6 separate regions of the Homo sapiens genome follow, and regions 1, 3, 4, 5 and 6 are each linked to region 2. The links are contacts of gene promoters, found by promoter capture Hi-C in blood cells and fetal thymus (Javierre and others, 2016). All regions are on one chromosome and are shown on one strand. The core of a region is centred on a gene start or on the middle of the fragment in contact, and the rest is flanking DNA. Distances in the headings are between cores, read along the strand shown.

What was found. The method cuts DNA at HindIII sites, captures the fragments that hold promoters and counts their contacts. A CHiCAGO score of 5 or more calls a contact.
Region 1: a fragment that was not itself captured here is called in contact with the fragment with the promoter of PRICKLE2-AS2 in region 2 in 1 of 17 cell types (megakaryocytes); the score reaches 6.3 in megakaryocytes.
Region 3: a contact is called between a fragment that was not itself captured here and the fragment with the promoter of PRICKLE2-AS2 in region 2, in 1 of 17 cell types (naive B cells). The highest score is 5.0, in naive B cells.
Region 4: a fragment that was not itself captured here is called in contact with the fragment with the promoter of PRICKLE2-AS2 in region 2 in 2 of 17 cell types (megakaryocytes and endothelial precursors); the score reaches 9.3 in megakaryocytes.
Region 5: a contact is called between a fragment that was not itself captured here and the fragment with the promoter of PRICKLE2-AS2 in region 2, in 1 of 17 cell types (megakaryocytes). The highest score is 5.1, in megakaryocytes.
Region 6: a contact is called between a fragment that was not itself captured here and the fragment with the promoter of PRICKLE2-AS2 in region 2, in 2 of 17 cell types (endothelial precursors and megakaryocytes). The highest score is 7.6, in endothelial precursors.

Annotation. Positions count from the first base shown.
Region 1 is chr3:64,408,197-64,411,676 of GRCh38, reverse strand. No RefSeq gene overlaps it. Among named protein-coding and RNA genes, the nearest start is that of PRICKLE2-DT, 35 kb to the left of the region's middle. The HindIII fragment of the contact is 5,040 bases long and covers 1-3,480 here.
Region 2 is chr3:64,101,873-64,105,554 of GRCh38, reverse strand. It overlaps PRICKLE2-AS2 (PRICKLE2 antisense RNA 2), which reads right to left and starts at 2,085. Exons shown (of 4, transcript NR_046701.1): 1 at 2,051-2,085; 2 at 822-1,062. All of the region lies in intron 7 of PRICKLE2 (prickle planar cell polarity protein 2), which reads left to right. It overlaps PRICKLE2-AS1 (PRICKLE2 antisense RNA 1), which reads right to left. Exons shown (of 3, transcript NR_045697.1): 3 at 2,424-3,682. The HindIII fragment of the contact is 2,788 bases long and covers 449-3,236 here.
Region 3 is chr3:64,456,567-64,460,156 of GRCh38, reverse strand. It overlaps LOC105377123 (a long non-coding RNA gene), which reads left to right. Exons shown (of 8, transcript XR_940913.3): 6 at 753-867; 7 at 3,164-3,282. Among named protein-coding and RNA genes, the nearest start is that of PRICKLE2-DT, 13 kb to the right of the region's middle. The HindIII fragment of the contact is 3,013 bases long and covers 767-3,590 here.
Region 4 is chr3:64,390,714-64,394,737 of GRCh38, reverse strand. No RefSeq gene overlaps it. Among named protein-coding and RNA genes, the nearest start is that of PRICKLE2-DT, 53 kb to the left of the region's middle. The HindIII fragment of the contact is 844 bases long and covers 1,636-2,479 here.
Region 5 is chr3:64,436,313-64,440,184 of GRCh38, reverse strand. No RefSeq gene overlaps it. Among named protein-coding and RNA genes, the nearest start is that of PRICKLE2-DT, 7.0 kb to the left of the region's middle. The HindIII fragment of the contact is 2,806 bases long and covers 223-3,028 here.
Region 6 is chr3:64,482,155-64,485,942 of GRCh38, reverse strand. All of the region lies in intron 3 of LOC105377123 (a long non-coding RNA gene), which reads left to right. Among named protein-coding and RNA genes, the nearest start is that of PRICKLE2-DT, 39 kb to the right of the region's middle. The HindIII fragment of the contact is 1,958 bases long and covers 1,178-3,135 here.

The DNA.
Region 1 (3,480 bases), core at 721-3,220, 310 kb before region 2:
TAAAGGCGTATTACTTTCACTTAAACTAAAATAGCAGCAGTGATTTTTAATTAGATTTTTTTTAACACCCAAAGTTCCCAAGCTAGAATAGAAAAAGTCAGGACGGTTTTTGGAGAAAAAGTGATCTAAGTTTTATTTTTCTATTTTCTAATCATATTCTTGTTTTCTTCTTCTCTCTTTCTCTGCAGTAGCCAACATTCTAAAAATAATCTTGTGTTGGGTTTGTAAGTTTCCTCAGTCTGGCCTAGGATGAAATTTTTTTTTAAAAGATGTTATCATCACATTTGGTTTCCAGTGATAATTTACATGGACTTAGAAGAATTCCCCAAGCAAAATCTTGTGAGGTCAGCCGGGGCAAATGTTTAACATTTCGGCAACTTGTCTCCATGTTTATTTAGCATTTCTTAGCCTTTGAAGTTTCACATAAATAGTCATGAAGTTATCACAGAGGAAATCAGCTGAGATGGATTGATGTTATTCCCAAATGCAAGTCTAGTACCAGACGCTGGTTGGTATCTTGAAAAGATGGCAGCAGGAGCAGTATTATCTGCATCGTGGAAAGTCCCTCTTCATTGCCTGATAAACTGTGCTGTTACTGGTTCTCTTGATGGCTAACCTTACTGGACCTTCGATAAATCTTTTGAATTTTTATTTCATCCTGGTGGGATAAAGTATGAATTGAGGCTGGGCACCGTGGCTCACGCCTGTAATCCTAGCACCTTGGGAGGCTGAGGCAGGCGGATCACTTGAGGTCAGGAGTTCAAGACCAGCCTGGCCAACATGGTGAAGCCCTGTCTCTACTAAAAATACAAAAATTACCTGGGCATGGTTGTGCACACCTGTAATCCCAGCTACTTGGAAGGCTGAGGTGGGAGGATAGCTTGAACTCGGGAGGTGGAGGTTGCAGTGAGCCGAGATCATCCCATTTCACTCAAAGTGAGTGAGATTGAAACAGAAAAACTATGTTTTCAAACTATACCATTAATTTACCAGTTATATGAATTCCTCTGGTTGGGGAGGGGAGGATGTAAGTACCTCCAAAATACTCCCTAAAATACATGGCCATGTGTCAAGGCTGCCATCAAGCACCCAGGGAATTCAGAATAGAAAAATATATCAGACTCAATGGACTGGATAATTGTACTAATTACCTACTTTGCTTTGACCGTAGAGGCTGAATGTTGTGAAACATGTCGTGAGGCAGTTGTATTGCTCTTTACTGAAAGTCATGCCTCAGGCACCAATGTCAGCTCCAGAAAAATGATGATCCGGAGCTCTTGGTGGAAAATACAGCACCGTGAAGGCCTTTGTTGGAATCTGCCCTTTCCCCTGACCCCTTGTCCCCTCTTATAGCCCAGTCTGGAGCAGTGTGAGGCTTGAATCTGTGAGCCGTTTCAGGATAAGAATCCTGAAAATTCAGTGACTGATTCACGATTGAAGGATTGAAAGAGAGGAAAAAGTTCTCCATTGGGAAGCTGAGTGATGCTGAATACCTCAAACAAGAAAGATAGGAAGAGGAGGAGAGAAGATGTGGGGAGGGGAAAGAGAGTCTAATTTGAATAAGATGGGGTTGAGTGACTTGTAGACATTCTGATTGAGATATTCTGGCCTATCTTAGATTAGTTTAAGACTATGACTAGGGCCTGAGATAAAAATATTAGAGTCCTTAGTGTTAAGGTAGTTGCTATGGTTTGAATGTGTCCCCCCAAAAGCCTGTGTTGGAAATTTAATCCCCTATGCAACAGTATTGGGAGGTGAGGCCTAATGAGAGGTGATTTGATCATGAGAGCTCTGTCCTCGTGAGAGGACTAATGCCGTCTCTCAGGAGAGTGTTCCTTATAAAAGGAGGAGTTGGGCCCCCTGTTGCTCATGTGTGCTCCCTCTCCCTCCCTCACCAGATGCCAGTGCCTTGATCTTAGACTTTCAAATCTCCAGAGCTGTAAGGAATTAAATTTCTGTTCTTTATCATTACCACCTCAGGTATTCTGTTATTGCACCAAAAACCAGACTAAGACAACAGTTGAGGATTGGTAGTTGAAGCCATGAGAAAAACATGACCAGGTATAGACACTACATTGTAAAATAAACACGGTATAGTTATTGGCTACAGTGACACAGACCCCTACCTTCTCAAAACAAAGGGTAGCTTAAATGGCAATTAGTTGTGTGTGTGTGTGTGTGTGTGTTTGTTTGTTTGTTTTTGAGGCAGGGTCTCACTCTGTCACTCAGGCTAGAGTGCAGTGGTGTGACTGCAGCCTCGACTTCCTGGACTCAGGTGATCCTCCCACCTCAGCCTTCCAAGTATTAATAGGCGGGACTACAGGCGTGCACCACCACACCAGGCTAATTTTTGTATTTTTTGTAGAGACAAGATTTGGTGATATTGCCCAGGCTGGTCTTGAATTCCTGGGCTCAAGTCATCTACCAGCCTCAGCCTCCCAAAGTGGTAGGATTGCAGGTATGAACCACCTCGCCCAGCCAGTTGAGCATTCAGGAGTTGTATGCGAGCTTGATGCCTCCTCTGGAACCCATGCTTCTCTCTCTGCTCATCCATCCTCAGTGTGTCCTCTCATTCTCAAGGGGACAAGAGGGTTTCTTTCTGCCCAGCTCCCATTCCCCCACCTTGCACAATCACTATACTGTGTTTGAGGCAGAAAGAAAGGAAAAAGGAAAGGGGAAAGCAGTGTTTCAATTGAGTCATCTTCCTTTCATGGAGATCCACCCATGACTTCTATATATACCTCACTGGCTAGAATGTGGTCACATGACCATCTGTGTGGGATATTAGGAAATGAAGTTGAGCTAGATTTATTGCCATCCTGGGTATAAAATTAGGGTTCTGTTTAAGGCATTTGGGTCAAAGCAATGAGTAAATGAATGAATGAAGCATTAAGCACATGCTTATTGAATGCCACCTGTGTGTACAATGTGTAGATATTCTTCCTCGAGCAGCTTTCTTTTCTTTATTTTGAAGTCTTCTTTCAACTGGATCATGGCCAGCCCTAAATAAAATTATAAACTGTTCATTGAATACTATGGGTCAAGAACTGTTCTGTATTACTGCATTACGGAATTTGATCTTGACCCACAACCTTCTGAGGCTGGCACTGCTAAATCCATTTTATAGGTGGGGAAACTGAGACACAGAGAGGTTAAGTCACTTGCCTTGTGTCACACAGCTGGTGATACTATTTTCAATACTCTTGACTTCTTTTTTGGCCCCATAAAGCCAATCCAACTTCCCACCTTCTACAAAGTCCCTCACTTTTTGGTGCCCAGTTTTCTTATACCAATTCATTTCCTGAGTTAAAAGAAACTCCTCTCTACTTAAAGGTAAGGTGCTACTCACTGTTTTTAAAATAAAAATTACTGCAGATTTATATTTCCTAAGAAAATTTGCGTTTTAAGGGGCTCATTTTATATGAGAAATGGTGGATCCAAAGGAGTGCATCTCTAATAGTGGAATTTTTACCTACATGA
Region 2 (3,682 bases), core at 836-3,335:
ATGGTATTTTTTTCTGGATGTTTGGAATCCCACCCATGTGGATCACAGCACTGACCCACTCCAGGTTGGAGGGTGGTTGCTTTTTTCCAAGCTGTGGGTAACATGAGAATCCATTTACGTTTATTCCATGAGTATGTATTGAGCACCAAAGGGTACTGGGCACTGCTAGCTCTGCAAGAATACAGTGAAGAGTAGGGAGAAGATCCTGGCTCCCAGGGGATTCATTCAGCTACAAACTTACATATGACCTTAATAAGTCAGGGTGAGTAGTTTAAAAAAGGGTCAAGTGCAATAGTGAGTGGTTGGCCAGAAGACAACTAACTTTGCTACTTTAGAAGGAGTGTTCAGAAATGACACTGCTGAGGAGGTGACATCTACACGAGGACTTTAACAAACAGAAGTCAGGCATGCAAAGGGAAGAGTTTTCCAAGGCCTGCTGGAATAAGCTTATTGTTGTGTTTGGGGAGACAGGGAGGAATGTAAGCACAGCTGAAGCAGAGTTAAGCGAGGAGGAGTGTTTAGTTGATTATCTTGGAGAAAGAGAAGAGAGCCAAGTCACGTAGGGCCTTAAGGTCTGCGTAAGGATTCTAGATTTTGCCAGTAATGAAAGTAACCACAGAACTACCCTTTCTAGAGGCAAGTACACAGTTATTGCTCATCTTTGGTCAACATTGGCCTTTCTGTTCATGCCCTGCATGCAAGAAGACCCTGGAGGAAAATCTGAGTTAATGAATCAGAAGAGAGGCATTTCTCCTCTCTAGAGTGAGCAGGTAGTATTTCCAGTCCCACCCACACATAGTCCAGGGGAATGAATGGCTTACATTTAGGTGAAACTGATAGTAGATGCTGGGCTTGTGCAACAGGACCCTCCTGCTCTGATCAAGCTCTTTTGTTTTTCAAGGGGGTGCCTCAGGTTATCCCGAGCTTTCCCGGGATGCAGAAGCCTGATACCAGAAGGCAGTACACCTCCCAGCAGAATAGAAGCTGCTCTTCTTCGAGGTCACCTCCTCACGGAAATAGGAATCTGTTCACAAGCAGGATGCTCTCAAAAACATTTCACTTCTGGGCTTATGAAAGACAGGTTCGGGAAAACAGCATGCTGGGGAATTAATAGTATTTGCTAAGTTATTTATGCTGACCCTAATTCTACTCAAGAGCTAGGTTGGAAAGCCCTGCAAAGATCATTGTGTCCACCTTTTGTTTCTAGACATGAGTTTGAAGATGTTTTCTTTCCTTTCTTACTAGAGTTCATCCACTCAAACCACTCATTCATCATCTTAGGTTGTTATCCTCTCCTCTCTGCTTTCATATTGGGGAGGCTCTGGAAGTGATTAGGCTGTTGTAAATCGGCTTTTATGATTTGTATGTAAGAGATAAGCAGCAGAGTAAGCAAGCGATTGGAGGCCCCAGCTGCTATTGCCCTGACAGTTATCCCAGGAACGAAATTGAAACAAAAAATTACTGGAGTATATGATATTTAGCTGATTAATTTCTTTATAGGCATATCCAATGTTAAAATTTGACCCTTTAACAAACATTGTTTTATTTTTTATTTATTTATTTGTTTATTTTTTGGAGACAGGGGCTCGCTCTGTTGCCCAGGCTGGAGCACAGTTGCACAATCTCGGCTCACTGCAGCCTCCACCTCCTGGGCTCAGGTGATACTGCCACCTCAGTCTCCCAAGTAGCTGGGACTACAGGCACGCACCACCATGCCCAGCTAATTTTTGTATTTTTAGTAGAGACAGGGTTTCACCATGTTGCCCAGGTTTGTCTTGAACTCCTGAGCTCAAGCAGTCCACCCTCCTTGGCCTCCCAAAGTGCTGGGATTACAGGCATGAGCCACCACACCTGGCCAAACGTTGCTTTACTTTTACTCCATTTTATTGAGATATAATTTACACAGAATAAAGCAAACCAATATTAAAACTACATCTCAGTGAATTTTTACACATGTGTATTGTTTTACAGCCACCATCCAGATTTAGTTATAGAACAATTGCAGTGCCCTAGAAGCCTTCTTCATACCCCCTCCTCCCACTGCCCTGACCTGTATCACTATAGATAGCCTCAGCCTGTTCTTGAACTTCATATAAATGGAATCATACAGCACATATTCTTTTTGCATGTCCAAGCATTTTCTATGAGATACATCCATGTTCTTGGGTGTAGTTATTCGTTCTCATTATTGTGTAATATTCCATTTTATCAGGGTTTCTTCTGAGACTGTTGACAGTTTGGTTTGGAAAATTCTGTGTGGAGGCAAGGAAGCCATCCTTCACACTGTAGGATGTTTAGCAACATCTCTGGCCTCTACCTACTAGACGCCAGGAGAATCCCATCCTAATAGTGACAACCAAAAATGTGTCCAGATGTTTCCAAATTTCCTTCAGAATTAAAAACCATCATATCAGATGAATATATTCTAATGTTAAAGAAACTTTTTATTTGGAAATAATTTCAGACTTAAAAAAAGTTATAAAAATAGAACAAACAACACCTGTAATGTACTCTTTACGTAGATTGATCCATTGTTAACCTTTTGCCACATTTGTTCTTTCATGTTCACATGCATGCACACACACGCACACACACACACATTTTATTTATAAACCATTTGAGAGCAAATTGCATCCATCTGGGCCATTTACCACCATATCCTTCCATATATATTTCCCAAGAGTAAAGATCTTCTCCCACATTATCACCATTATTAATTGACCACAGTAAATTTAGCATAATACTTTTATCTATTGCCCATGTTCCATTTTTTTTTCAGTTGACCAAAAGTTATCCTTTATAGAGGCAGTCCCCAACCTTTTTGGCACCAGGGACCGGTTTTATGGAAGATAATTTTTCCACAGACTGGGGCCAGGGGGTGGGGATGGCTTTGGGATGGTTCAAGTGCATTACATTTATTATGTACTTTATTTCTATTATTACTACATTGTAATATATACTGAAATAATTACACAACTCACTTTAAGGTAGAGTCAGTGGGAGACCTGAGCTTGTTTTCCTGCAACTAGACAGTCCCATCTAGGGGTAATGGGAGACAGTTATGGATCATCAGGCATGAGATTCTCGTAAGGAGCACACAACCTAGATCCTGCATGAGCAGTTCACAACAGGGTTTACACTCCTATGAGAGTCTAATGCTGCTGCTGATCTGTCAGGAGGCAGAGGTCAGGCAGTAGTTGGAGCAATGGGGAGTGGCTGTACATGCAGATGAAGCTTCCCTTACTGACCACTCACCTCCTTCTGTGTGGCCCTGCTCCTAACCAGTCTGTAGCCTGAGGTCTGGGAACCCCTACTTTATAGCATTTAGTTTCCCTAAAGAGCAGGTTCCAGTCCAGGATCAGGTATTATATGTAATTGCCATGTTTCCCTCGTACCCTTTCATCTAGAACATTCTCTCAGTCTTGTCTGGTCTTAAGACTACAGTCCCTTTTTTCATAACAAATGTCCCTCCTTTTGGCATCTGTCTAATGTTTCCTCCTGAATGCATTCGGGTAATACATTCTTGACTGGAATACTACATAAGGGATAGTGTGCCCTTCTGAGTACATCTCAACTGGAGGCATGCAGGGTGCAGTTGCATCTCACCAGGGATGTTAAGTTTGAACTTAAGGTCAAGGTGTTGTCTGATTTTACCTTTGTTTAGTTACTAATTCTTCCCTTG
Region 3 (3,590 bases), core at 1,024-3,523, 350 kb before region 2:
TTGTTTGTTTTTTGTTTTTGTAAAAATCAAATCAAATAACAAAAAGGTTTCCTAAATCTCTGAGGTTTCTAGCAACAACGAGGGTTTTACAAAGACTAGCTAATTTCTGAGGCCCCTTTCAAGGCTAAAATTTTTAGCCACGTATTAGCCGTATTGCCTCATGAGTAAAATGAGAGGTTAAACTAGGGGAATTGTAGTTTCATCCACATTTCTAGGGTGTATGGTGCAATAGGGCTTTTAGACCAGTTTTGTTGAATCAGACACCAAAGTCATGAATCTGGAATCAAAGTGAATTTTTTTAAAAAGAAAAGATGTTGAAATAATGAAGCAAAGAGACATGGGACTTAAGGAATACATACACACACACACATACACACACATACATTTATTCTCCGTGTGTATGCATGTATGTATTTTTATTTATAAAAATCAGTTTATACATTAGGGTCTAGGTTACAGATTCAATGCTGCATGGGCCAGCAGGTGACACAGCTACATCCCTTGCCCAGGAACCACAGTGAGCCAGAGAATGGTGGCCTAGGGCTTCCAGATCTGTTGATTTTTCAAATAGCCAGAAATCCAGAATTTGTGTAGAATCTCCTGTTGTTAAAATATTGGCAACTAATTTGAAGTGTTTTTAAGAAGCACTGTGTGGGCTAAACAAAGTGAATCTGCCTTAAAGCAAAAGTTCCAAATGTGTAATTATCTTTTTACATATTATATGGTTAATTAAGACTCACTTTATTTGACAGGGTGAAGATAAGCTTGTGCAGGCCACTGGCTAACACAGTTCATCCCATGCCTCCTACATACCAAGCACTGTGCCAGGCACTTTTCACGTCTGGCATCCTCAGAATCCTCCAAAAGGTGGGTGATATGGTTTCACTGTGTCCCCACCCAAATCTCATCTTGAATTGTAGCTCCCATAATCCCCACATGTTATGGGAGGGACTTGGTGGGAGATAATCGAATCATGGGGGCAGTTTCTCACGTATTATTCTCATGATAGTGAATAAGTCTCATGAGATCTGATGTTTTTATAAGGGGCTTCTGCTGTGGCTTGGCTCTCATTGTCTCTTGCCAACATCATGTACAAAGTGCCTTTGGCCTTTCTGCCGTGATTGTGAGGCCTCCGCAGATATGTGGAACTGTGAGTCCATTAAACCTCTTTTTCTTCCCAGTCTCAGGTATCTCTTTATCAGCAGCTTGAAAACGGACTAATACAGTGGGTGTTATTTATCACAAGAGTTTGGTCTCTACTATAAAGATGAGGATGCTGAGGCAGGGATGCTAAAATTTTTGGCCACATATTAGCTGTATTGACTATGTAGCCAATATGTAATACGTAGCCAAAAATTTCAGCATGCAGGGGCATGCTGAAGATCAGGTGACTCCTGAGTCCTAGACCCTCCATTTCAAGTCCCTTCTCTCTGACTCTAACTCTCCAGCTGCCTGCTCTTAGGACTCTGACTTACCTGAAACATTTCTCTGAAGATGTGTTAGGAAGCTGTCTTAGTTTGCTAGGGCTGTCATAACCAAGTACCACAGACTGGGTGGTTTAAAAAACAGACATTTATTTTCTCCTAATTCTGCAGGCTGGAAGTCCAAGATCAAGGCTGGTTTCTTCTGAGGCCTCTCCCCCTGGCTTGCAGTTGACTGTCTTCTCCCTGTGTCTTCATATGGTCTTCCCTGTGTGTGTGTGTGTGTGTATTTGTGTGTCTGTGTCCTGATCTTTTCTTATAAGAACACCAGCTATATTAGGTAAGGAGCCACCTGAATGACCTATGTTTATCTTACTTACCCCTTTAAAGATTCTATTTCCAGATACAGTCACGTTCTGAGATATCAGGGATTAGGACTTGAGCATATGAATTTGCGGGGGGAGGGGTGGGGGTGGCATAATTCAACCTGAAACAGAAGCCATCAAATTTTTTCCCTCATTTCTTTCCCTTGAATATTATTATTGGAAGGACAGAGAGAGATTTTCTGAGCCCAAGGAATTGGAGCACCTGAGGGGAGGTGCTTATCTCCTGACCCCCACCCCCCTAGGTGACCTGGCTGGCCGCAGCTCAGCCCCAGAAGAAGTGGTATATTCGCACACTGGAGCCACAGTTAACCAGTTCCCAAACCACAGCTTCAATATTTTAGAATGCATAAAACATGAGATCACATTTAGCAATGGCACTGTTTTATTTGGCATCGCTGGGTATATCCGCGTGTGTCTTCATCTAAAATAATACTGATGCAGATGAGAAGCATTATTTATCATGTCAAAAATTAGAAACAACCTCAATGTCCAACAATGGGGTTTAATGGGATAGAATTTTATGCAGCCTTTGGAAACTGCTGTGGAAAAGTATTTGTGGTGTGAGAAAATAATCATGACAGATGAAGTGGGGGGAAAAAGCAGGTTGCAAAGAAATAGGTATAGTTGGATCCCAATTTTTTGAAAAAGGTTTATTACATGTACATATTTATAGGTATATATGTGTGTATATATGTGTTCATCTGGAAGGCTATACCCCAAAATATTTAAAATTGTTTTCTTGCAGTGATGGAATTATGTGTACTTTAAGTTTTTTTTTCTGTTTTTCTAAGTGTGTGTCCCATATTTTCTAAAATAGACATATTACTTTTGCAATTCAGGGGAAAACCTTAAAGATAAAAATCTTGATATCCACTCGGTTTATAGAAAGTTTCCTCTAACTTAGCCTTTTTCATAAGGAGCTGCCTCACAGCTTTCCACATATGGCTGCATTTACAAAAGTGTAATTTACTCACCGTTTTCCAGATACAGCTCTCAACCACAATTACCTGGATTCTAGAATAATTTTTGTGACTGGTCTGAGAACCTCTTCTCTATTTTTGTTTTTCCACCTGGCACTATTTTCTCATTAAAGGAGTTTTAGGAGTGAATGCAGAGAAAGCGTGGAGCCCCAAAGCCCTGGAAAAAAAAAAGCCCTTAAAATAAATAAATCAGTGGACTAGTTTAATGTGTCTAAAATATCATCCAAGGAGACCCAAAAAGAAGCAGGATGTAACTTCACAGTGACTTTGTTCCTTCTATTTCTCTTTACTTATTTGAGAGATCCTTTAAGCACACTTCCCTTTTAACAGAATGTGCTTTGGCTAAATACTCCTATGATGTTATGCTTTTACAAAGGAGAGGTTCGTGGAGGATAATGCTGTCAGGCTTGGAAGCAGCAGTAGAGATCACGTTGCCCAGCTCTTGGCATCATTGGTTCCCAAAGCTCTGAATCCCCTGGAGAGCTTTTGTAAAAGGTCAGTGCTCCACAACATGACAGAAATAGAAGGGGCCTGGGGCTGTGGGTTGTGAAAGCTGTGATTCTTTTGATGCTCAGCCAGGTTGAGGAACCCACTTCCCTACAGCTCCTGCATTCCCTCCTCAATGTCACAATAGGTGATTACTTGAACACTTGCAGAGATGGAAAATTCTCTTCCTCAAGAGCTAGGCTTTTCCATTCTCGGACTGCTGTGCCTATTGTAATTCTTTTTTTTTTTTTCATATACTCTAGATTCCTCCAATTCAGGGAGCAAAAAATGGAGACATTTTGTTAGTGTAACCCAAA
Region 4 (4,024 bases), core at 808-3,307, 290 kb before region 2:
CCTCACACCTCCTTTTACTATTTGTGAGTTGTTGGCCCAGTTGTTTAACCACTGGCTTCAGTCTTTTCATTTGTAAAATTGATATAATCATTACATATGAGAGAGAGGGAGTACGCATACATAGTTTTATTGTGAAAATTAAGAGGAATAACGGGTAGAACGTGCTTAGCACAATGCCCAAGACATAATAATTGCTGAATAAATGTTTGTAATTATTGTTGCTATTTCTGTTTTTAAGCAGTTATAGACAGTAAATAAACTCTACTCTAGCTTTGTAAGAAATGTGCAACCTTTGTTTGGAGGTACTTTAATATTTCCATTTATTGGTGACATCCCTCTTAGTTCTCAGTACAGTCCCAGTTTATAAATATAGTCATTCCTTGGTGTCCTTGAGGGATTGCTTCCAGGACCCCTGGGGATACCAAAATCTGAGGATGCTAAAGTCCATGGAATAAAATGGTATAGTATTTGCTTATAACCTATGCTGATCCTCCCACATACTCTAAATCATCTCTGAGGTATTTATAATATCTAATATGATGTAAATGCCATCTAAATAGTTGTTATACTGCATTTTAAAAATTTGTATTATTTTTATTACTGTATTGTTATTTTTATCGCCTTTTTTGTTTTGTTTTGTTTTTTGAGACAAAGTTCCACTCTTCAAGGCTGGAGTGCAATAACGCAGTCTCGGCTCGCTGCAAACTCTGCCTCCTGGTTCAAGCAATTCTCCTGGCTTAGCCTCCAGAGTAGTTGGGATTATAGGCGCCTACCACTGTGCCCAGCTAATTTTTGTATTTTTAGTAGAGACGGGGTTTCACCGTGTTGGCCAGGCTGGTCTCAAACCCCTGACTTCAGATGATCTGCACGCCTCGGCCTCCCAAAATGCTGGGATTACAGGCGTGAGGCACCATGCTGGCCTTTATTGGGTTTTTTTAAAAAAAAGTTTTTGATCCTTAGTTGGTTGAATCCATAGATATGGAACCCACGGATACGAATGGCTGACTGTATTTTTCCACGTGACTCATGTATCAACTGGAATACACCAGCAACACATCTCAGAAATGTCCACCTTTTGCCATCTAGACTGCTCTTCCCAGGATGTGTTTTTCAGCTGGAAGAACATAAAAATCCTAGTCGAGCCTACTGTGGGTTTTAGAGCATATGGCCACTGTCTCTCTAATTTACCAGGACTAGCATGGTCTCTTATTACATCAGTCACCCTGATTCTTCCTTGCTCCTCCTGTCCATGCTATTTGTGTTGCCCTCCCACTCTGACTCCGAGCTCACCCATGGCCATGGGACTGCTTTGGTCAATAGGATATCAGCAAACCTGAGGCAAACAGAGGCTTGAGGAAGTGCAGACATACTTCTGCTCTCGCTCTTCCACTCCCCCATCATCACAAGAAAGATGTGCCTAGTGAGCTGACCATTCCAGGGAAAGAATGAGAGGCACACGCAGTAGAGCAGAGTAGACCGGCCAGACTGAGCCGTAGTCAGCCAACCCCCAGGTGTGTGAGGGCATGCAGCCTAGATAGGCTGAACTCTGTAGATGCATGGAAAATAATTGCTGCAAAGGTCTTGCATCTGGCATGGTTATGCCACAGGTAACTCATAAAACCAGGTTTGGAAGCTTGATTTCTGGTGGTCAATTTTTCTACAGCAGAAGTATTGAATTTTTAAAAAAATGTTTAAAAAAATTTATTTTCCAAATATGTTTAAGCCTTAAAGGGAATGTAGCTGCAAGCTGGCAGATTTTCAGGAGTGCCTACCAGATTTTCATCTCATGGCAGGATGTTGTTAAAGTCTGTAGGGAAATAAAACCTGTGTACTCATTTGAAGCTGCTTGTAAGTGCCACAAACAATCCTCTGTAAAAATAAGGAAGGGGACTTTGTTTCTCTGCAGGATTCTACTTATAATTGCGTAGAATAGTGAGAGCTTGGGCCCTCAGATCACTACAAAGCAAACTCTTGGAGGTGACAGTGGCTGGTACAGGAGTGATGTGGACTTCTTGTGTGCTCTGCTGCTGAGGACACAGGATAGTACCAAAGGGCAAGTCATTCTTGCCCTGAGTATTCTACAAACTGGGGACATTCACCAGAAGACCCCATTGCCAGGGACTTTAGCAGGGAAAACACTCATGACCACCTGAATCTACCTCCTTTGGGATGCCTGGTCCCTGAGCTGTTTAGGGACCTGAACCTCCCCCATTATTGCACCTTCTACTAAGTGCTTGTTTGGGGGAAAGTCAAACTCCCACTTGACTATGATTGCTTAGAGGGCAGTGGGTGGGACTTATTCTTATTTTGTTTATCAACTGTCTGGCATGTAATGAATGGGTGAACCAACAAATGAGCAAATGGATGAATGAATTATGTTCCACTAAGTATTTACAGGTTGCTAGTTTGCTCTCCGTGGACTGCGAAAAGAGAAAGAGACATGTGTGATACCAGACAAGCTATGTAATCTTTTGAAGCTTTAGTTTTCACATGTGTAAAAGGCAGTAATAATAGTCATTGCTTCATAGGGTTGGAATGAAGATTATTCAACCAGGCCTAAAGGATGTGGCATAGTGCCTGGCACACTGTACGAGGCTGATACTAAGTCAGTGGTGGTGGTGATGATGCTGATAGCATTTATACTTTGATACGATACATTATGCTTACAGACATAATTTCCCCCAAAGAGAATCCATCTGCCAGCATTCAGCGGAAACGTCACCATGAGAAAGACAAAGTCCCAGTGGGAGTGAGGGTACTGCAGCTGGGAAAGGCGGAGGGGGCCATAAAATGGCACAGAGTGGGCAGAGAAGAGGACATCTAAGGAGAGACACTAAGAAGTAGGTGGCGTTTGAATGGTGGGTGAGATTTTGACAAAACCTAGTTTATGTGACACAGACTTCGGGCCTTCAAGGAATTCTGAGAAGGTACAGATCTGCCTTGGTTTGTGGACCTAGAGCTGGGAGAACTTGGTGAGGAAAGTGTAGCTGCCATTGGCTTTGGGAAAAAAAGAAGAGAATTCCCCTGGGAGTGAAAATAGAGGAGAAAGCCTTACTTTACTTCTCTTATTCCTTATAATTTTGCTTACTTTCCAAACAGGTATAGCACATTATAGAATACCTCCTTGGTTTCTTTTCCTTATTTCTCCTGTTTCTTTCTCCATTTCTTTCCTTTCTTTTCACCACTCATAAAAGACCACAGACTGTATCTGGACTCTAATTTCAGACACTGTTGCTTATTTATATTGTGGCTTCAGGAAAGATATTTTGCTTTCTGGGTCTTGACTTTCTCATCCGTGAAATGGGAAAATAATTCCTACTTCAAAAGGTTTTGGGGAAGGTCACTTAAGGTAGTGTATAATAAGGGTTAGGTTTAAGTGTTCTTAATGAATTATGGTGACCTTCATCATTCAATTTTTATTTCTTCTGCCACTCAAGTAAAAGGGATCCTGTTCACCCTACCTGAGATGCTTTTAATAAATCAGTATAGACCCAAAAGTTCCAAATGACTCAGCTTTATTTTGTGGCTCAGTGACCTCACTCTTCATCTGAGTGGTCCTCCCATTGGACAGTGAGTTGGTTACCATAATATGCCATCATATGCCCATGGATGTTTCCTTTGAGCATGTGACTTCCCTGAGCCCTTGCCTTCCACTGTCCAGTGGCTCCACATTCCACATCTTGCCTTTTAACCAAAGGGTGCCACTCCTATAGCTGATAACCAGTGTGCAAGAAGAAAGTCTAGTCCCTTAATTTACATAGACCTCTCTTCTGATTTCTTGGTGCTTGTTACTAAATATTTTAATTATCACCCCAGGCTGCCAACTTCACAGGCATAGATTTGCAAGAGGAATCATTTAGAGGTAACTAATCCATGCCTATCTATGAGGAATATAATTTAGACACTGAAAACACCTAGCCTGTGACCAGATGTCCAGACACAGGTAAAAGAGAGTGAGGAAACTGGAGAGAGTTTTCATTAAGAAATTCATTTTCTAGAAAAGTTAAGTTCATTAGAGAATCCG
Region 5 (3,872 bases), core at 376-2,875, 340 kb before region 2:
AACAGGTAAGGAAACTGAGTCTCAGAGGAGTTAAGTAATTTGCCTGTGGTTACACAGCCAACTGCTTAATGGTATTTTGTCCCTATCTGACTTCAGAAGTCTGTGTTCTGGGCCGGGACTTCTGAAACTTGCATACAAATTACTGAGGGCTCTTGTTCAAAATTCAGATTCTGATTCTACAGATTTGAGGTGGGGCCTGAGATTTTACATTTCTACCAAGCTTTAAGATGATGCTGTGAAGCTGGTTGAGGGACCACACTTTGAATAGCAAAGCTCTAGACTGGTGTCAGTAAAATACAGCCTGCTGGCCCAATGTGACCCTTTTCCTGTTTTGTATGGCTCATGAGTTACATTTTTAGATGGTTGGGGAAAAAATCAAAAGAAGAATGTAATATTTCACAACATATGAAAATTACATGAAATTCAGATTTTGGTACCCAGAAAAAAGTGTTATCTGAACAAAGTCATACTCATTTACTTACATCTTATCTGTGGCTCAGATATTTAGGTTACCTGTCAGGGACTGGAAGTGATTGGAGCTTGCAAATCCTGAATGAGCAGGTTTTCGTGCTGCAGTGGCAGACTTAAGTAGCTGCAGCCGAGATTGTATAGCCCAGAAAACCTAAAATATTTAGTATCTGGATCTTTACAGAAAATATTTGCTGACCCCTGGTCTGTATCACTACCTAGGGGAACATGCAAATAGCTTCTCTTAGTTTAGAATATAGGGATCTGAGAATCTTTTGGAATCAGGGCTAGAGGAAACACCCCCTCCAACTCAGATGAGAATGGTGGTAAAATCAAAGGCAACCAAAGAGCTAGGGAACAGACCAAAGCATTTTCTAAAGGGCGTGTGGAGATGAGCCTTGCAAGACAAGATCAATGAACCTCCAGTGGATTCTAAGCCCCTTGTAATCCCTTTAACGTTTCAGCTTTGCTGATAAATGTAGATTCAACTTGAGCATTAAAAGATGGGCTTTCCTAACAAGCCTCCTGGAGTCCCACTTTCATGGGCAACTGACATGGAATGCCCAGTGCAGGGGTAGTGTTGTGAGATCATTATAATTATGCAGAGTTGTTTGTCTCCAGACAACGGCTGCCTTTCCAGCCGGGATGCTTTGGCCGGGATGCAGTTGCTGCAGAGGCAGCACTCACTGGGCTAGCCAAGACTGCGACTTGAAAAGCCTCCCTCCTTAGTTGCCTGGGCGATTGTGTTGATTGATGACTGAGGCAGCAATTCGGGGTGATGCCGGCCTGGTTTCCTTTAATGGATTGTAATTTGGCTAAGAAATGGGTTCCCACTGATTATTTTGCTTGGAGAGGAAAAACACTCTGCCTCAGTCACTGACATGCCAAGAAATGGAAAACAAGGAAAGGCGTTTTAGGGGGTGGGGGTGGGGGGAAGCATAGATTGAGTTATTCCTAACATCAAGGCAGGGAAAGATACTTAGCTGATAAGAAGGTTGCAGGTTGGCTCACTTTATGTCATTGGCATTTAATAATACCCCTGATAGAAGTTGAAATACCTTACAGGGTTTTTTTCTCTACAGGAAATATATCAGTTTATGCCAGTATATCTGTATTATTACTTGTTTTTGGAAATAGACATAACTATTTTAAAAGATATTAAAATATCTCACACATGTGCAGAAATTAAAAAATACATATCATAGAGGAGGAACCCCTTCTTTTTCATACCTTCTAGACCAGGGGTTGGCAAGCTGCAGCCTGTGGGACAAAATTAGCCTGCTACCTGATTTGTATGGCCTGCTAGCTAAGAAGGGTTTTCATATTTTTAAATCGTTGAAAAAAAAAATCAAAAGAAGAGTAACATTTTTGTAGCATGTAAAAATGATACAAAATTTCAATTTCAGAGTCCATAAATAAAGTTTCATTGGAACACAGCCATGCCTGTTCATTTAGTAACATCTGAGGCTGCTTTTGCAGTAGCAGAGTAGTTGAGACAGCCCTTATGGCCTGCAAAACTGAAAGTATTTACTATCTGGCTCTATACAGAATCAGTTTGCTCACCCCTAAGCTAAAGATATATGTTGTTTATAGGCTGATATTATTTCCTTAGGTTCATTCAGATTATTTATTAATATTGCTTTAACAGAAAATACACATTCTACATATTGCCTTTTATAGCTTACTTTTTTCGTACTTAGAAATACTTTCTGGACATTTTTCCATGTCAGTATATAAAAGCCAAAAACATCTAATGTATTTATTAGTTTTCCGAATCCATTCTATGGATTATGATTGAGTCAAAATTTCTCCCTTCATGACCACGTTGGTTGTTTTCCATTGTTCCTAATTATATATCATATAATGATAGCTTTTCTCATGCTACAACATGCCTGTGTGTTTTTACCCAATTTTATGCTTCTGTGGTATAATTGGACTTACTAGGTGGGAGGAGGTTAACATTTAAAATTTTAAGCGCTCTTGACAAATTGTCCTCTGAAAAGATGGTGCCAATTTGCACCCGTATTCTTTTAAAAATTTGAGTACATTTATGTGCTCTTTGGGCTGCAACTTTGAAACATCTCAACTTGTATAGCAACCTGGTAATTAATCCTTGTTTAATCACCCCGAGTGACAATTTGTGCTTGATGACTACTGAGAAAACACAGAGCACTGATGTCAGTCATCTTTTGTTCAAAATAAATTTTATTTGTTTTTAACCATGAAAGCGATACCCACATTCTGTTGAAAGGTTGTCATTCGTCCTAATGCCTCTGTAGTTTAAGGTTGTTGGGATGAGTGAGAGCCTAATAAATTTGTTATTTCGTGGTTTCTTGGTTCAAAAAACTCAAAGGTTATCCTTTAACCATGTGATTAATGAGTACCCCAGAGGGATTTCCCTATGGAGAGAGGAAGCATTCCCTAATGGGAATGACTTCCAGATCTTGCGCTTTTTGAGATCAAAGGGGTTGAACCTGCCTGTGTATGGGAGAGTCATGGGGAACGATCTCTGGGGGAAATGTATATTTCTAGCCAGTGTCACAGAAACTTCTATGAAGCTTGTAAGGGTTTAAATGAAAGGATTATAGCCGAGTGGTTAAAGGGACTGGCTTTGAAGACATTGTTGGAATTGTAGATTTGGCTTTGTCTCTTACTAGCTGAATGGCCTTGGGCAAATGAGTTAATATTTTTGAGCCTTGATTTTTCTCATCAGAGAAATGGGGATACTACTGCTTGTCTCGTGAGGTTGTGGTGAGGGAATGCATGTAATGTGTCTCCCACTGTTCATGGCCTGTAACCTGGGCTTGATATATGTTTGTGGTTTCAAGAGGGTTTAATAAAGACAGGGTGCATGAGGAGGAAGAATATCTGGGTTCAAGGGCCTGGAAATTGTAGGTTATATAATCTATAACAAGTTACTTCCCCACTGTATTAGTCCATTTTTATGCTGCTAATAAAGATGTACACCAGACTAGGCAATTAACAAAAGAAAGGTTTAATGGACTTATAGTTCTGTGTGACTGGGGAAGCCTCACAATCATGGCAGAAGGTGAAACTCATGTCTCACATGGTGGCAGACAAGAGAAGAGAGCTTGTGCAGGGAAACTTCCCTTTTTAAACCATCAGATCTTGTGAGACTTATTCACCATTATGAGAACAGAGGTGGCTCATGCCTGTAATCCCAGCGCTTTGGGAGGCTGAGGCGAGTGGATCATGAAGCCAGGAGTTCGAGACCAGCCTGAGCAACATGGTGAAACCCCATCTCTACTAAAAATACAAAAATGAGCCAGGCATGGTGGCACGCACCTATAATCCCAGCTACTCAGAAGGCTGAGGCAGGAGAACTACTTGAACCTGGGAGGTAGAGGTTGCAGTGAGCTGAGATCATGCCATTGCACTCCAGC
Region 6 (3,788 bases), core at 907-3,406, 380 kb before region 2:
AGGAGCTAGGAACCCAACAGGACTTCTAGATTGATAGGTCTCACCCTGCCTGACAGGCCATGGTACAGAAGGTGAATTTTTAAAATATACATATATAAGTGTAATAAGTCATTTAAACAGGAGTTTCATGGTCCACCTTATATTTTTACAACAGTAGTTCTCAAAGTGTGAACCTCAGCCCAGGAGGGTCACCTGGGAATTTGTGAGGCATGGAAATTCGCAGGTCCACTTCTGGCCTGATGAATCACAGGCTCTGGGAGTGGAACTCAGCGGTCTGTATTTTAACAAGCCCTCCAGGAGATGCTGCTACTGCTGGTCTGAACTGGAAGCTCAGTGATTCTCAATCCTGGATGCACAAAAGAATCATCTAACTTTGGGAGGCCAAAGCAGGTAGATCGCTTGAGGTCAGGAGTTTGAGACCAGCCTGAGCAACATGGTGAAACCCCATCTCTACTAAAAATACAAAAAATTAGCTGGGTGTGGTGGCACACACATAGTCCCAGCTACTTGGGAGGCTGAGGCCAGAGAATCGCTAGAACCTGGGAGGTTGAGGTTGCAGTGAGCCGAGATGGCACCACTACACTCCAGCCTGGGTGACAGAGCAAGACTCTGTCTCGAAAAATAAAAATAAAAAGAATCATCCAGGAGCTTTCATGAGCTACGAATGTTGAGAGACCTTCTACCCACTACCCCTAGATTCTGATTTAATTAGTCAGGGTTTGGCCCCTGGGTGTTGGTAGGTCTTGAATGTTCCCCAAGGCATTCCATAGCTACAGCAGGTAGGACCACAGCTCTAGCTGCTGCGTGAAGAATAGACAACAGGGGGAAGGGAGGAGATGCAAGAAGATCAGGAGGCTAATGCAGTGGTCCAGGTGAGGGATGATGGTGGCAGAGAATATGAAGGGGCTTAGACAGATTTTAAATATATTTCACAGAGAAAAACCCAACAGGACTTTTAGATTGATAGGATATGGGGTGGAGAGGTGGGACTTATATTCAGCATCAGATCGAAGGGAATGCCAGCCATAATAGTAAAGACCCTGTGCTTTTAGATAGCCTGCAGCTAGAAGACCCTGGCAACATAGCCTAACGTTGAGCACAGGGCCCCAAAGAAGTCCATCTTCTCTATCTGCCTGGCAACAAAGAAGATTTCAGCAAACTTAGCAAGATCTAAGCTTATCCTAAGTTCTCAGAGGAGCCACAATGTGAAAGGGACTTTACGAAAAAAAAATCTGAATACTCAGCTAGGATGTTCCTGTTTTACAGCCCAGTCTCCTGGGAACACTCTGGGCACTGGCCCTTCTGGGGAGAACAGGGGACTGGATGGTATATCCAGGAGTGACCAGCAGGTGGCATGCCAGACTCAGAAATGTGTATTGCAGGGAGCAAGGCAACTCTTGCTGTTTGCTGCTTAAACAGAAGAAAAGGATTCACTCCGGAAGTAATACTCATGTGTGCCATGTACTAAATGGCTACTGTGTGCCAGATACTGTGCCAAGTGCTTATGTGTATATTCTCATTTAATCCTCATAGCTCTACAAGGTGAGCTCCACCACTGTACATATATTCAGAGATCTAAGTGGCTTGGGCAATGTCACTGACATGGTCATTGGCAGAACCAGCCTTGGTCCTCTAGCCTGTCTGACCCCATGGCCACTTTTCCTGTCAAAAGGGCCAGGATCCCCAGCGGCTCTTTCTTGTCCACAGTGGTGCTCTCACTCACACTTGGGGGTAATGCCCTTGGAAGGTGGGGCCATCAGAATTATCAAAGCCTTTAAAGTCAAACGCCCTGGGCTTTGCCGCTCACTTGCTGTGCGATGGTAAGAAAGCTACTTGGCCTCTCTATCCTCAGGTTTCCTCATCTCTAAAATGGGGTGAGGCTGGGCCCAATGGCTCACTCTTGTAATCCCAGCACTTTGGGAGGCTGAGGCAGAAGGACTGCTCGAAGCCCGGAGTTCGATACTAGCCTGGGCAACAAAGTGAGACCACGGCGCTACAAAAAAAAAAAAAAAAAAATTAAAATGCGTTGAGACGTGAGGCAGTGAGCTGTGGTGAGATGATCTTATGTAACTGACCCAGAATCTTGCTTGCTTGGCCCAGAGGAGTGCTCAATGAATGGCAGCTTTTCTGCTTAAAATGATTTCACAGGAGGTAGAGACAACTCTGAAAGGTCTAAAACTGTGCTATCCAATGGTGCTCTCTGCAGTGATAGAAATGCTCTATAACTGTGCTGTCCAGCAGCATAGTCATAACCACATGTGGCTATTGAGTGCTTAATACATAGCTAGTGCAACTGAGAGATTGAATTTTAAATTTTACTTAATTACAATAAATGTAAATTTCAATAACCATATGTGGCCAGTGGCTACCGTATTGGACAGTGCAAGTCTAAAATGTGTCTGCGCTCACAGTCTGTGTGTCCTTTACAGCCCCTTGGGTATGAAACAAAATAAGTTATGTTCAACATTTGGATCCTGGCATATAGCAGGCACCCAGTAAATTTGAGTTAGTCAGAAATGGGAGAGAAAGGAAAATCAGTAAGTGAAGCCAAAGCAATGTTTTACATTTAACAAATTGTGTAAAATTGTAGAACTGGACTCTCAGACTTCTCCAGCAAAATCTTCCAGAGTTCAGTAACCATGGGGGACTGACTGGGGCAGGTTGTTAGTTTTTTACCCTTTCAAGCCAGAATTCTCTAAATATTTCTTCAGCCTGTATTCGATGGGGACAGAGAACAAATGTGTTCAAGTGAATAACGTGTGTGTTCAATACAAATTCCTTTCATCTATTCACTGACTAAAGAACACTTCCTCCTTTTCTGTGCCCCCTCTTCAAATTTTTTTTTGCAATTTCACAAATCAGACAACTGCTTAGAAAGTTTATTCTCTCTCTCTCTCTCTCTCTTTTGTTTTGTGTGTTTGTTTTTTGAGACAGGGTCTCACTCTGTTGCCGAGGCTGGAGTGCAATGGTGAGATCTCAGCTCACTGCAGCCTCAACTTTCTGGAGCTCAGATGATCCTCCACCTCATCCTCCCAAGTAGCTGGGACTATAGGCATGTACCACCACACCCAGACTATTTTTGTGTTTTTTCTGTAGAGACAAGGTTTCACATGTTGCCCAGGTGGGTCTCAAGCTTCTGGGACCAAGTTACTTGCTTGTCTTGGCCTCCCAAAGTGCTGGGATTACAGACATGAGCCAGCATGCTGCGCCAAAAGATTTTAAAGGTTCAAAGTATAAATAACAAAACAACTGGCCCCCCAGGAAGCAGCACTATATCATGCATTTCTCACTTCCAAAATTTTATCTATCCAGATTTTGTTTTTAAGTGATGGTCAGTTGGCAATTCTTGCATGTTCCATAGTTGAATCTTGCAGTTTATAAAAGCTAGTGGCAAACATTTTCTCCAGAGGTAGGTCTGCATTGGCTGACACTGCCATTTGCTTCTATCTGAAGATAATTTCTAGTCAATATTGGGACCAATTTGCATTCCACCTGTGGTTTAAGAAAAATCTGAGTTAATAGACATCTTATTTCCAAAGTATCCCAGTGATGTGTAGTGGTCCTTGTGGACTGGCCCCCTGGGCTGCTGGTCCATTTCCTAACCTGGCTCTGACCCAGTTAAGACCAAGCCCCTCTCCTCCAGAGCATCCTGTTCTGGCCACAGGGCGGACATTCTTACCTATACCAGGCAGAACCTTTCTTACCTGTACAGGGCAGAGCCATTCGTTGCTCCTCACCATTCTGAAGACTTGTACTCTATCTGGGTGCCCTAGCTACCAACATGAAGT